Regions from separate parts of the Homo sapiens genome. Here all the other regions are linked to region 1. The links are contacts of gene promoters, found by promoter capture Hi-C in blood cells and fetal thymus (Javierre and others, 2016). All regions are on one chromosome and are shown on one strand. The core of a region is centred on a gene start or on the middle of the fragment in contact, and the rest is flanking DNA. Distances in the headings are between cores, read along the strand shown. Region 1 holds the start of MMP20 (matrix metallopeptidase 20). Region 2 has its middle 29 kb from the start of MMP7. Region 3 overlaps MMP7 (matrix metallopeptidase 7).

Region 1 (3,782 bases), core at 336-2,835:
AGACACATGTTTTGTCTATCTCACAGTACATGCCAGAAATTCTGTTTGCCTGTGTGTATTAGTCCATTCTCACACTGCTATAAAGGAATACCCGAGACTGGGTAATTTATAAAGGAAAGAGGCTTAGTTGACTCACAGTTTTACATGGCTGGGGAGGCCTCAGGAAACTTAGAATCATGGTGCAAGGCAAAGGGGAAGCAGGCACCTTCTTGACAAGGCAGCAGGAGAGAGAAGATCAATGGAGGAACTTTCAAACACCTATAAAACCATCATATCTTGTGAGAACTCACTCATTGTCATGAGAACAGCATGACGGAACCACCCCCATGATCCAATCCCCTCCCTCCCTCAACACATGGGGATTACAATTCGAGATGAGATTTGGTTAGGGACACAGAGCCAAACCATATTAATGTGTGACAAACTCTTGTTCAGTGCCTGGGGTTGTACACTAGATACCAAACATTGGCTGTAACTCCACCATCTTCTCTTCCATGCAAAGAAAGCATATCAAAATGCAACAGAGTGAGAAAGACTATAGGAATTCACTGTATTCACTATAGGAATAACCTTGAATTTAGTCTAAAATCAAAATTAGGATTTGAATCCACATCTAGTGGATGCCAAGTGGTGCTTGCAGATGTCATGCTATATGTGTTACTCCATAACACTGAAAAGTTTATACATAGTAGTAGTATTGTCAGTCTTTTGTAGATTAAAAAAAACTTGATATTCAGAGATTAAATGACATACCCAACATCACACAGCTAGGAAATATCTTTTTAAATATTTAGTCTTGCTTTGTCTGACTCTAAGTGCTTTTCCCACCATATGACACCATTTCACCGTATCATCTCTGGATCCAAATCCATCTTAATCAGACCCAGGAAAAACAATATGACTCCAATTAACCAGAGTACACAGAGATTGGGGAGTTCTGGCTATTGTTTTGGTTAACGAAGACGTAACTCTTGCCTTAATTCATCCAAAAGCTTTCTAACAGTTACCAGTTCACTTTCCACCCTAAGTCAGCACAGTATAATGTAATCTTGCCTTGATGATTCAGGATCTTATGTGTCTCAGAGCCATCATTATGAACAGCAGTTGCTACTAAGAAATTTTGAAGTGAATGCAGGAGATACAGGCGATTGGGTTGAATGCATGGGGAGTTTGGGATTACTTGGAGGACAAATTCAATTATACTGTAATCATCTAACTTTTCTGTAATCAGAATGGAAAAAGGCCCCCAAATGAAGACTAATCAAATGTTTCAGTTGAGTTGGGTTCAAATCAATCAAGTTTACTTCAATTTTTGTAACTAGCTGACCAACTTCATTAAAAGTGACTGTTTTTCTCCTTTTGCCACTTGGTAAATAACAAAAAAAATATGAAGCTTTCCCTGATTCCTGTGTACAGTTGTGTTACCCCATCATCAGGGAGAGAAATGAGCTGTATAATTACTGTTTGAGACATGAATCATCCTTGCTCGGAGGGTCCAGACCTGTTTGACTCTATAAAAGGAGCTCAAGGTCGAAGTGCAAACGTGCACTGTCTGCCATCCCCCAGGCTGATATAATTACCAAGCTACTGTGAGGGGATGAAGGTGCTCCCTGCATCTGGCCTTGCTGTCTTCCTCATCATGGCTTTGAAGTTTTCCACTGCAGCCCCCTCCCTAGTTGCAGCCTCCCCCAGGACCTGGAGGAACAACTACCGCCTCGCACAGGTTTGTGAATTTTTGCCCAATTCCTTCTTGCTCCTCTGCCCTAGAAAACCTAAAAGGGCATAGTGAGAAAATAAGAAAAAAATTCTATTGTTCTTTTAAAATCATTTTATATAAGTCCATTGAAGTCTAACTGATGCTATCTTCTGTCCACCTAGATTGGTGTCTGGTGCATATTAGGTGTACCATGTTACATGACTGAATAAATACATGAGGATATATCTACCTAGCTATCTTGCTTCATAAAGAATTCCAGGTGGCTTGTGAAAACCATGCAATATAAAAGGAGCAAACAAGTACTTCCCGGGAATGATGTAGGAGGAAAAATAGAAGCAGAAAAATAAAAACCGAGGCATAATCCACACGCTAGAGGCAGGTTGTGAATTTAGTGCTAAGCTTTAGCGGTCACAACAAGGAGATTTCCTGTGTTTCCACTTTTTAAATGGCTCTTATATTCAAGGTAACCCTGATCAAAATTTAAAGTGGACTAAGTTCTTCCTGGGTGCCAACCCACTTCTCATTTGAAGGCCTTTTCTCCCTAAAGCATATTCCCCAATGAAGTAAAAGTTTATGTACAAAGTACATAACAAAGTTTATGTAGTAAGTACAAAGTACAACGTTTATGTACTTAAACTTTGTGTATTTTCCTCTTTTGAGATCTCTCCTCTATGACTGCTGGAAAGGGTCTGATAGAAATGATCCATATTCAAATATTTCACAAAGACTGCTTGACTCAAAATGATTTCTACATATATATATATATATATATATATATATATATATATATATATATATGCTTCCAAGCGTGTTTTGTTTTTAAAAGAAGGGTGGCATCCTTAACCTAAAGAAATGGATGTCTACGGATGGAATTTCCAACATTAGTGAAAGATATATAGAGGAAATGCTTTTGCACACAGGCCTCCCTTTCAAGAGTCTGCCAACATTACAGCACATCTGTGATCACCAGCTCCGCCTCAGGGCTGCTTTCCTGACTGCCAGGCTGCACCTGTGTACCGCTTGGCTGTCTGCATCGTAGAGCTGATTTGCACCCATGTGCAATGGCATGTCCCTACCGATTGTTTCTGCCACTCATCCTTATTAACTGGTCAGTTCCCCGGCCATACCAGTCATTAAACACTTAAATATCAGCCCCGCAGATGAACAGCACAGCTGATGCCCAGCACAACCATGTTGAACTGAACTTCTTTTGACTTTAGCCCACTTTTAGATGAACTAAATTCAAAATAACTCAGGATACTGGGATCCTTATTCAATTGTATTTTGTCCATGCCACCTAGCTTTAGGTGCCTTCTTCCCAAATGTAATTTTCCCTACCCTGCCTCATGCCACTGTGATTCTGAAACTAAAGAGGTTTTGTGACCTCCAGAAGGAGAGCCATGCTGAGGCCAGAATGGATCTGAGGTGTTGGGAGACCCCCCTTCTAATCCACAGTTCAGGAAAACTACAGTTGGCCCTGCCCCTTAGTTTACAGATTGTCTATGATTGCTTTTGTGCCACAATGGCAGAGGTTAGCCTAGAAGCAAAGAATATTAATTATTGGTCCTTTGCAGAAAAAATTAGTCACCCCTGACCAGTCTATTAAGGAATAAGGCTAGACCAGCCAAGCACCAGTTTCATAGAAGACAGTTTTTCATGGACGTGGGAAGTAGGAGGCTGGAGGGGTGATGGTTTTGGGACGAAACTGTTCCACCTCAGATCATCAGGCATAAGATTCTCAAAAGAGCATGCAACCTAGGTCCCTCACACATGCAGTTCACAATAGGGTTCTGCTCCTATGCGAATCTGATGACTCTGCTGATCTGACAGGAGGCAGAGCTCAGGAAGTAATGCTGGCCCGCCACTCACCTCCTGCTGTGGGGCCAGGTTCCTAACAGGCCACAGACTGGTTTCCGGGTGCAGCCCAGGATCAGGGGACCCCTGGGCTAGACACTCTTGGGTGGAGTCACTCTTGCTATTCTAGCTGGTCAGGAGTCAGCTAGGCACGTTTAGAAACAGTAGCATGGCCTGGGAATATTGGGGACCTTTAGTGATTCCTTACTTC
Region 2 (3,782 bases), core at 333-2,832, 120 kb after region 1:
CAGAGAGCCAAATCATGAGTGAACTCCCATTCCAATTGCCACAAAGGGAATAAAATACCTAGGAACACAATTTAAAAGGGATGTGAAGGACTGCTTCAAGGAGAACTATAAACCACTGCTCAAGGAAATAAGAAAGGACACAAACAAATGGAAAAACATTCCATGCTCATGAGTAGGAAGAATCAATGTCATGAAAATGGCCATACCACCCAAAGTAATTTATAGTTTCAATGTTATTCCCATCAAGCTACCATTGACTTTCTCCACAGAATTAGAAAAAAACTACTTTAAATTTCATATGGAACCAAAAAAAAGCCCACACAGCTAAGACAATCCTAAGAATAAGAACAAAGCTGGAGATATCACACTACCTGACTTCAAACTATACTACAAGGCTGTAGTAACCAAAACAGCATAGTAATGGTACCAAAACAGATATATAGACCAACAAAACAGAACAGAAGCCTCAGAAATAACCCCACACATCTATAACCATCTGATCTTTGACAAACCTGATAAAAACAAGCAACGGGGAAAAGATTCCCTATTTAATAATCGTGTTGGGAAAACTGGCTGGCTATATGCAGAAAACTGAAACCAGACCCCTTCCTTACACCTTATACAAAAATTAATTCAAGATGGTTTAAAGACTTCAATGTAAGACCTAAAACCACAAAAACCCTAGAAGAAAACCTAGGCAATACCATTCAGGACATAGGCATGTACAAAGACTTCGTGACTAAAACACCAAAAGCAATTGCATGCAACAAAAGCCAAAATTGACAAATGGGATCTAATTACACTAAAGAGTTTCTGCACGGCAAAATAAACTATCATCAGAGTAAACAGGCAACCTACAGATGGGAGAAAATTTTTGCAATCTATCCATCTGACAAAGGTCTAGTATCCAGAATCTACAAGGAACTTAAACAAAGTTACAGGAAAAAAACAACCCCATCAAAAAGTGCGCAAAGGATGTGAACAGACACTACTCAAAAGAAGACATTTATGTGACCAAAAAACATAGGAAAAAAAATCTCGTTATCACTGGTCACTAGAGAAATGCAGATCAAAACCACAATGAGATACCATCTCATGCCAGTTAGAATGGCAATCATTAAAAAGTCAGGAAACAACAGATGCTGAAGAGCATGTGGAGAAATAGGAATGCTTTACGCTGTTGGTGGGAGTGTAAATTAGTTCAACCATTGTGGAAGACAGTGTGGTGATTCCTCAAGGATCTAGAACCAGAAACACCATTTGACCCAGCAATCCCATTGCTGGTTATATACCCAAAGGATTATAAATCATTCTACTGTCATGTGTGGTGGCTCACACCTATAATCCCAGCACTTTGGGAGGCCAAGGCAGGCAGATCACCTCAGGTCAGCAGTACAAAACCAGCCTGACCAACATGGTGAAACCCCGTCTCTACTAAAAATACAAAAATTAGCTGGGCATGGTGGCAGGCACCTGTAATCCCAACTACTTGGGAGGCTGAGGCAGGAGAATCACTTTAACCCGGGAGGTGGAAGTTGCAGCAAGCCGAGATCACACCACTGCACTCCAGCCTGGGCAACAGAGGAAAACTCCCTCTCAAAACAAACAAACAAAAAAAATCACTCTACTATAAAGACACATGCACACGTATGTTTATTGCAGCCCTATTTACAATAGCAAAGACTTGGAGCCAACCCAAATGTCCATCAATGATAGGCTGGATAAAGAAAACGTGGCACATATACACCACGGAATACTACGTAGCCATAAAAAAGAATGAGTTCATGTCTTTGCAGGGACATGGATGAAGCTAGAAACTATCATTCTTAGCAAACTAACACAGGAACAGAAAACCAAACAAAAAAAAAATTCTGAGAAGAAAGCACAGGGCAAGTGCTTCATGATATTGGATTTGACAATGATTTATTGGATAGGACACCAAAAGCCCAGACAACAACAACAAAATGCACATACTGGACTTCATGAAAATGTAAGAATTTTGTGCATCAAAAAACACTCTCAACAGAATAAAAAGGCAACCCAAAGAATGGGAGAAAATATTTGCAAATCATATATATGATAAGGAATTAATATAGAGCATATATAGAGACCTCCTAAAATTTGACAACAAAAAAATTTTGATTTAAAAATGGGCAAAGAACTTAAATAGAAGTTTCTACAAAGAATATATACAAATGATCGATAAGCACATTAAAACATGCTCAACATCACTAATCATTAGAGAAATGCAAATCAAAACCACAACAAGATACTGCCTCACTCACATCCCCTAAGATGGCTTCTATTTTTAAAAGCTGAGAATAAGTGTGGGTGAATATATGAAGAAATTGGAACCTCTGTGCACACTTCGAGGGAAAATTGTATAGCAGTTGTGGAAAACAGTACAGTGGTTCTCCAAGAAATAAAAGCAGAATTATCATATGATGCAGCGATTCCACTTCTGGGAAAGTACGCAAAAGAATTGAAAGCAGGGTCTCAAAGACACAGTTGTACACTCATGTTCATAGCAGCATTATTCCCGGGAGCTAAAATGTGGAGGCACACAAGTGTCCACTGACAGATGAACAGATAAACAAAATGTGGTATATATACACAATGGAATGTTAGCCATAAAAAGGAAGAAAATTCTGGATAAAACTTGAGGACCTTAGGCTCAGTGAAATAAGCCAGTTACAAAAAGACAAGCACTGCATGACTCCACTTACATGAGGTACTTAGAGTATAACATTCATAGAGATGGAAAGTAGAATGATAGTTTCCAGGGCCTTTGGGGGAAGGGGCAATAGAGAATTATTGTTTAATGGGCATACAGCTTCAGTTCTGCAAGAAGGAAAGTGTTCTGGAGATTGATGGTGGTGATGGTTGTACAAGCATACGAATGTACTTAATACCACTGAACTGTACACTTAAAAATGATTAAGACATTAAATTTTATGTTATATATATTTTTCCTCAAAAAAAGAGAAAAATTTACAATGAAAAAAGATCATAATATAAGTTAAAATTCAATTTGTAAAATACTATGTATTGAATTATCAGTTCTATTTTTTAGTATATTTTAAACATATTTTTTAAATGTATAAATATAGTATAAACATATGTTTAGGTGTGGAATGATAAAGAACAAAATAGTATGCATGGTCATATCCAGGTTTTCCTTATATGTGTTTTTATAATGGACAGGAATTTATTTTGTAATAATAACACCATAAAATATTTTTCAAAAGCACATAAAAAATAATTATCACAAAGTTTCTTTAGGCAAAAAGTTTCCTTAATAAGGAAGAGAAAGTTAGAAACAGGATATCTCATCTGAAAAATGAAGTGTGACTGTTAGGAAGAAACAATAACACAAGTTACCATGGAATAAAAGTGTCTTTTAAAAATGTTTGTATTAAAAAGGAACCAGCTATTTATCATTGCAGAGTTAATAATTTAGTGAAGAAATTATAGCTATTCCAGGTTTAGTTTTATTAGGCTGAAAGAAATCATTTTTAATAACACATCACCGTTGTAGAACTTCTTTTCTTCAACTTCATGTCTTCTGGAATGTTCTTGACAATAATTAAACTATATTTAACCACACATAGCAATGCACTTCATGTGACTATAGATGAACAAACTAAGCCATTGCTAGGGCTTGAATGTTTGTCTCTTCCCAAACTCATGTTGAAACTTAAACGTCATTCTAACAGTATTAAGAGGTGGAAGCTTTAAGAAGTGACAAAGCTGTGGGGGCTCTGTCCTCATGAGTGGATTAA
Region 3 (3,782 bases), core at 693-3,192, 100 kb after region 1:
GTGCTTGAGCCATGATTCCAAGTGAGGGCTATGTGACTTCATACTTTTTCTACGACATATTCCTGCCTATCACTACCCAGTAAGCTTTTTATCCTAGTAAGAATAAAAGAATACAGAATGACATCTTTAAATCAGCAGATATAACTAAACCTAGCCAGTAAAAATATCAGGATGAAGAGAATACACTGCAAAAAGATCACTTAAGATTCTTCAAATGATCACGTGAGCAATGAAAGTGCTTCCACATAATAGAGGACTGTCCTCAGGGGAGAAATATTCCAGTAAGACACTGGATTTAAGATATCAGTTCAACCTAGCATTTGCTATAAATCAGCATGTCCCAAACTGTATTCTCAGAACACTAGTCCTACAGGGTGATTCCCAGAAAAGGAGGCTATGGAGAAATAAGTTCAAGAAACACTACCTACTGTATTTCAGGTGTATAGACTATTAGAGAGTATGGAGTATTGAACAAATGTTTAACTCAGTGTTTCCTAAATTATAATCCTTTTTATGGGTCTCAATGAGTCCCATAAACTAGCACTTCAGAGAACACACTTTGGAAAATGCTGTGTAACTATTCCCAAAAGTTACGACGTAAAGAACCACTGCTGTCCAAAAGATTCACAAAATGCTGACTATTGTTCGTAAAGTTATCATGAACAAAACTGAAAATACTATCCTCCCCTTACATAAAACTGTGGAACTCATGGAATATTCTATAGCAGTCTATAAATATTTTAGAACCCTAAGAAAAATACAAAGAGACTAAAGAAGGTCTGAGGCATGCTGATTAAATTTAACAGGAAGAAAAGAGACTAGTGCATTAAAACCTTAAGTATTAGACAAAAGGGCATCTCTGGTCAGAGTTGGAAACAAGTAACTTCTGGACAAATGGAAATAGAATTTAATTATGTGGGCTGTATATGTAGGGAGTTAATCTAAAAAGTAATATGAGCAGAAAACATAGATTCCAAAGAAAGTGATTAAGATACAAGATTCCTAATGCTATACTCAGAATGATAAAAATAATAGCTGGCTGGGCGCGGTGGCTCACGCCTTTACCCAGCACTTCGGGAGGCCAAGGTGGTTGGGGATCGCTTGAGGCCAGGAGCTCGAGACCTGGACAACATGGTAAAACCCCATGTCTACTAAAAATACAAAAATTAGCCGGGCGTGAAGGTGCATGTCTGTAGTCCCAGCAACTCAGGAGGCTGAAGCATGAGAATTGCCGGAACCCAGGAGGCAGAGGTTGCAGTGAGTCAAGATCACACCGCTGCAATCCAGCCTGGGCAACAGAGTGAGACTCCATCTCAAAAAATAAATAAATAATAGCTAACATGCATTGAGTACTTGCAGTATCCCAAGACTTCACATGGATTAACTCATTTAATTCAAGAATTCAATGAGACATTATTATCCACATTTTACAGATTTGTAATCTGATGCTAAGAGAGGTTAAGTAGTAAACTACCTAAGGTCACACATCTAGTAAACTGGTAGAAACAAGATGCAAAGGTACCTGAGCCCTGGGCCCACACTCCAGTCAATCCTGCCTTCTTAGCCTCTGGAGGTTGTTCTTCAGAATCTTTGTCCCAGGGACAAGAAATGGTCTGAGTGAATAATAGATTATACTTTCTGTGACATTTCCTTTGCCTGTATAATCTTAGGATGGTTTTTATGCATTTTCTACATATCAGAATGTTCTTTTTTTTTCTCTCAATAGGAAAGAGAAGTAATTCAAGAAAGAAATAGAAACTTCAGGCAGAACATCCATTCATTCATTCATTGGATTGTATATCATTGTTGCACAATCAGAATTGATAAGCACTGTTCCTCCACTCCATTTAGCAATTATGTCACCCTTTTTTATTGCAGTTGGTTTTTGAATGTCTTTCACTCCTTTTAAGGATAAACTCCTTTATGGTGTGACTGTGTCTTATTCATCTATACTTGCAGTGGGTAGATGTCAATAAATGTTACATACACAAATAAATAAAATGTTTATTCCATGGTAAATTTATTTATAGTTTGGAGCACTCTTTCTGTGAAGACATACTATACAATGAAACGAAAGACTAAGACAAAAAAAGAATCCCACCACACTATTTTGAGGTCTTCCGCAGCACCTCACCCTTCCACCCAAGAGGGAAGGTGGGAGCTCCACCTCTTTATTGTTCATTAGTGTGGCCCAAAGTTACACTAATTTCCCCTTACCTTTGTGGCCCGTGCTCTCACACTGAGTCCTCTGGAAAGTCCAATTCTTCCCACAAATGTCTGAGAATTTCCAACAACTTAAGACTTACCACCTCACGGTCACTTCCAGCTCCAAGTTCCTACCTGCCCCTCACCTCCTGATTTTCCTGCAACCTCTCCTGCTGCAGCCACTCTCTAGGTTCCCTTCCCTTTTCCCCATGCCAACGCAGATGTTGGTCTCACCCTGTTCTCTTTAACTTTCTACAGACCAGTGCTACAGGCTTTAATGAGAATGTAGATGTTGCTGGAGATTTGCATAAATAGTGGAATTTTCTACTGTGCAAGGGTCATGAAATTGAACAAAACTAAAATTGGATATTATGGATATTATCCCCATCCTTCAAATCCTTTTTTTTTTTTTTGGAGGCAGTGTCATTGTTACCCAGGCTGGTGTACAGTGGCACGCGATCTCGGCTCACTGCAACCACCGCCTCGTGGGTTCAAGCGATTCTCCTGCCTCAGCCTCCCAAGTAGCTGGGATTATAGGCACATGCCACCATCCCTGGCTAATTTTTGTATTTTTAGTAGAGATGGGGTTTCACCCTATTGGCCAGGCTGGTCTTGAACTCCTGACCTCAAGTGATCCACCAGCCTCAGCCTCCCAAAGTGCTAGGATTGCAGGTGTGAGCCACCGCACCCAGCCCAAATCCTTTACTTATCCCCGATCAGGAATTTCTCATTGGCCACCTGCTTCTGCAGGCTGCAGCCTCTTGCCACCTGTCTCCCAACTCCTCTTGTCTTTAAACCCCACTCCTTCTCACTTCCCCAGAAACTCATTTTCCTGATGTCCTTCAGCTCAGGTCCTCCCTTTCCACACGTAGAAACCCACTGTGTTTCTCTGGGTGAAGCACTCTCTATGCAAGGTTTAACCTTTTAGCAGAACACGGAGCTGGCAAGGGCTTTGCTGTTTCAGCCTTCTCTTTCTTCCTCCTTCTCCACACTCCCAACACCCATGAATGGCTTTCTCTATAGGGAGATGAACAATTGAAATTTACTTTCTTACTGATAAAAATTATCCTTCCCACACATACCCTAAAAGCAGATCAATATCCCGAAATTCGGAACTATCCTGCAGCCTTAGGAAGCCATTCCAAGAATAGATCAAATGAGAGGAGAATCCACAATCCAGGCAAAAAATTAAGTATATGTGAACAAGCGTTCAAAGACCCTTTTAAAACATAAGGAAATATATAAATATGATGCTAGAATGAAAAGGAAGTTATGTCATTAAATTCAAGTTCTTCATTTTGTAGAAGACAAAACAGAGATTAAATGATTTCCCTAAGGTTCACAGTAAGCAAAAGTGGTGATTTAAGCATTTTGTTGTTTGTTTAGCTCTTTGTATTTTGATTTTAGACAGCAGGAGGCAGTATCTACCTTGCAGCTAAAGTGGATATCTATTGTTCTTACCTGCCCAGCATCCCATCACCCTACTTCTGGGGACAAGAAACTGCCTCTTCCCTTTGTGTACAATCTTCATGAGATGTCACATAGGTTGCCTCAAGCTGCCTGGGCTGAGAGAAGAG

Evidence for each region. Contacts are between HindIII fragments. The CHiCAGO score rates a contact against its expected background, and 5 or more counts as called.
Region 2: a contact is called between a fragment that was not itself captured here and the fragment with the promoter of MMP20 in region 1, in 3 of 17 cell types (M2 macrophages, M1 macrophages and M0 macrophages). The highest score is 8.4, in M2 macrophages.
Region 3: a contact is called between a fragment that was not itself captured here and the fragment with the promoter of MMP20 in region 1, in 2 of 17 cell types (M1 macrophages and M0 macrophages). The highest score is 7.1, in M1 macrophages.

The regions. Positions count from the first base shown.
Region 1 is chr11:102,623,135-102,626,916 of GRCh38, reverse strand. It overlaps MMP20 (matrix metallopeptidase 20), which reads left to right and starts at 1,585. Exons shown (of 10, transcript NM_004771.4): 1 at 1,585-1,723. The coding sequence starts at 1,598. The HindIII fragment of the contact is 723 bases long and covers 1,396-2,118 here.
Region 2 is chr11:102,499,984-102,503,765 of GRCh38, reverse strand. No RefSeq gene overlaps it. Among named protein-coding and RNA genes, the nearest start is that of MMP7, 29 kb to the left of the region's middle. The HindIII fragment of the contact is 4,304 bases long and covers 1-3,734 here.
Region 3 is chr11:102,518,749-102,522,530 of GRCh38, reverse strand. It overlaps MMP7 (matrix metallopeptidase 7), which reads left to right. Exons shown (of 6, transcript NM_002423.5): 6 at 1,727-2,023. The coding sequence ends at 1,755. Among named protein-coding and RNA genes, the nearest start is that of MMP7, 10 kb to the left of the region's middle. The HindIII fragment of the contact is 3,711 bases long and covers 87-3,782 here.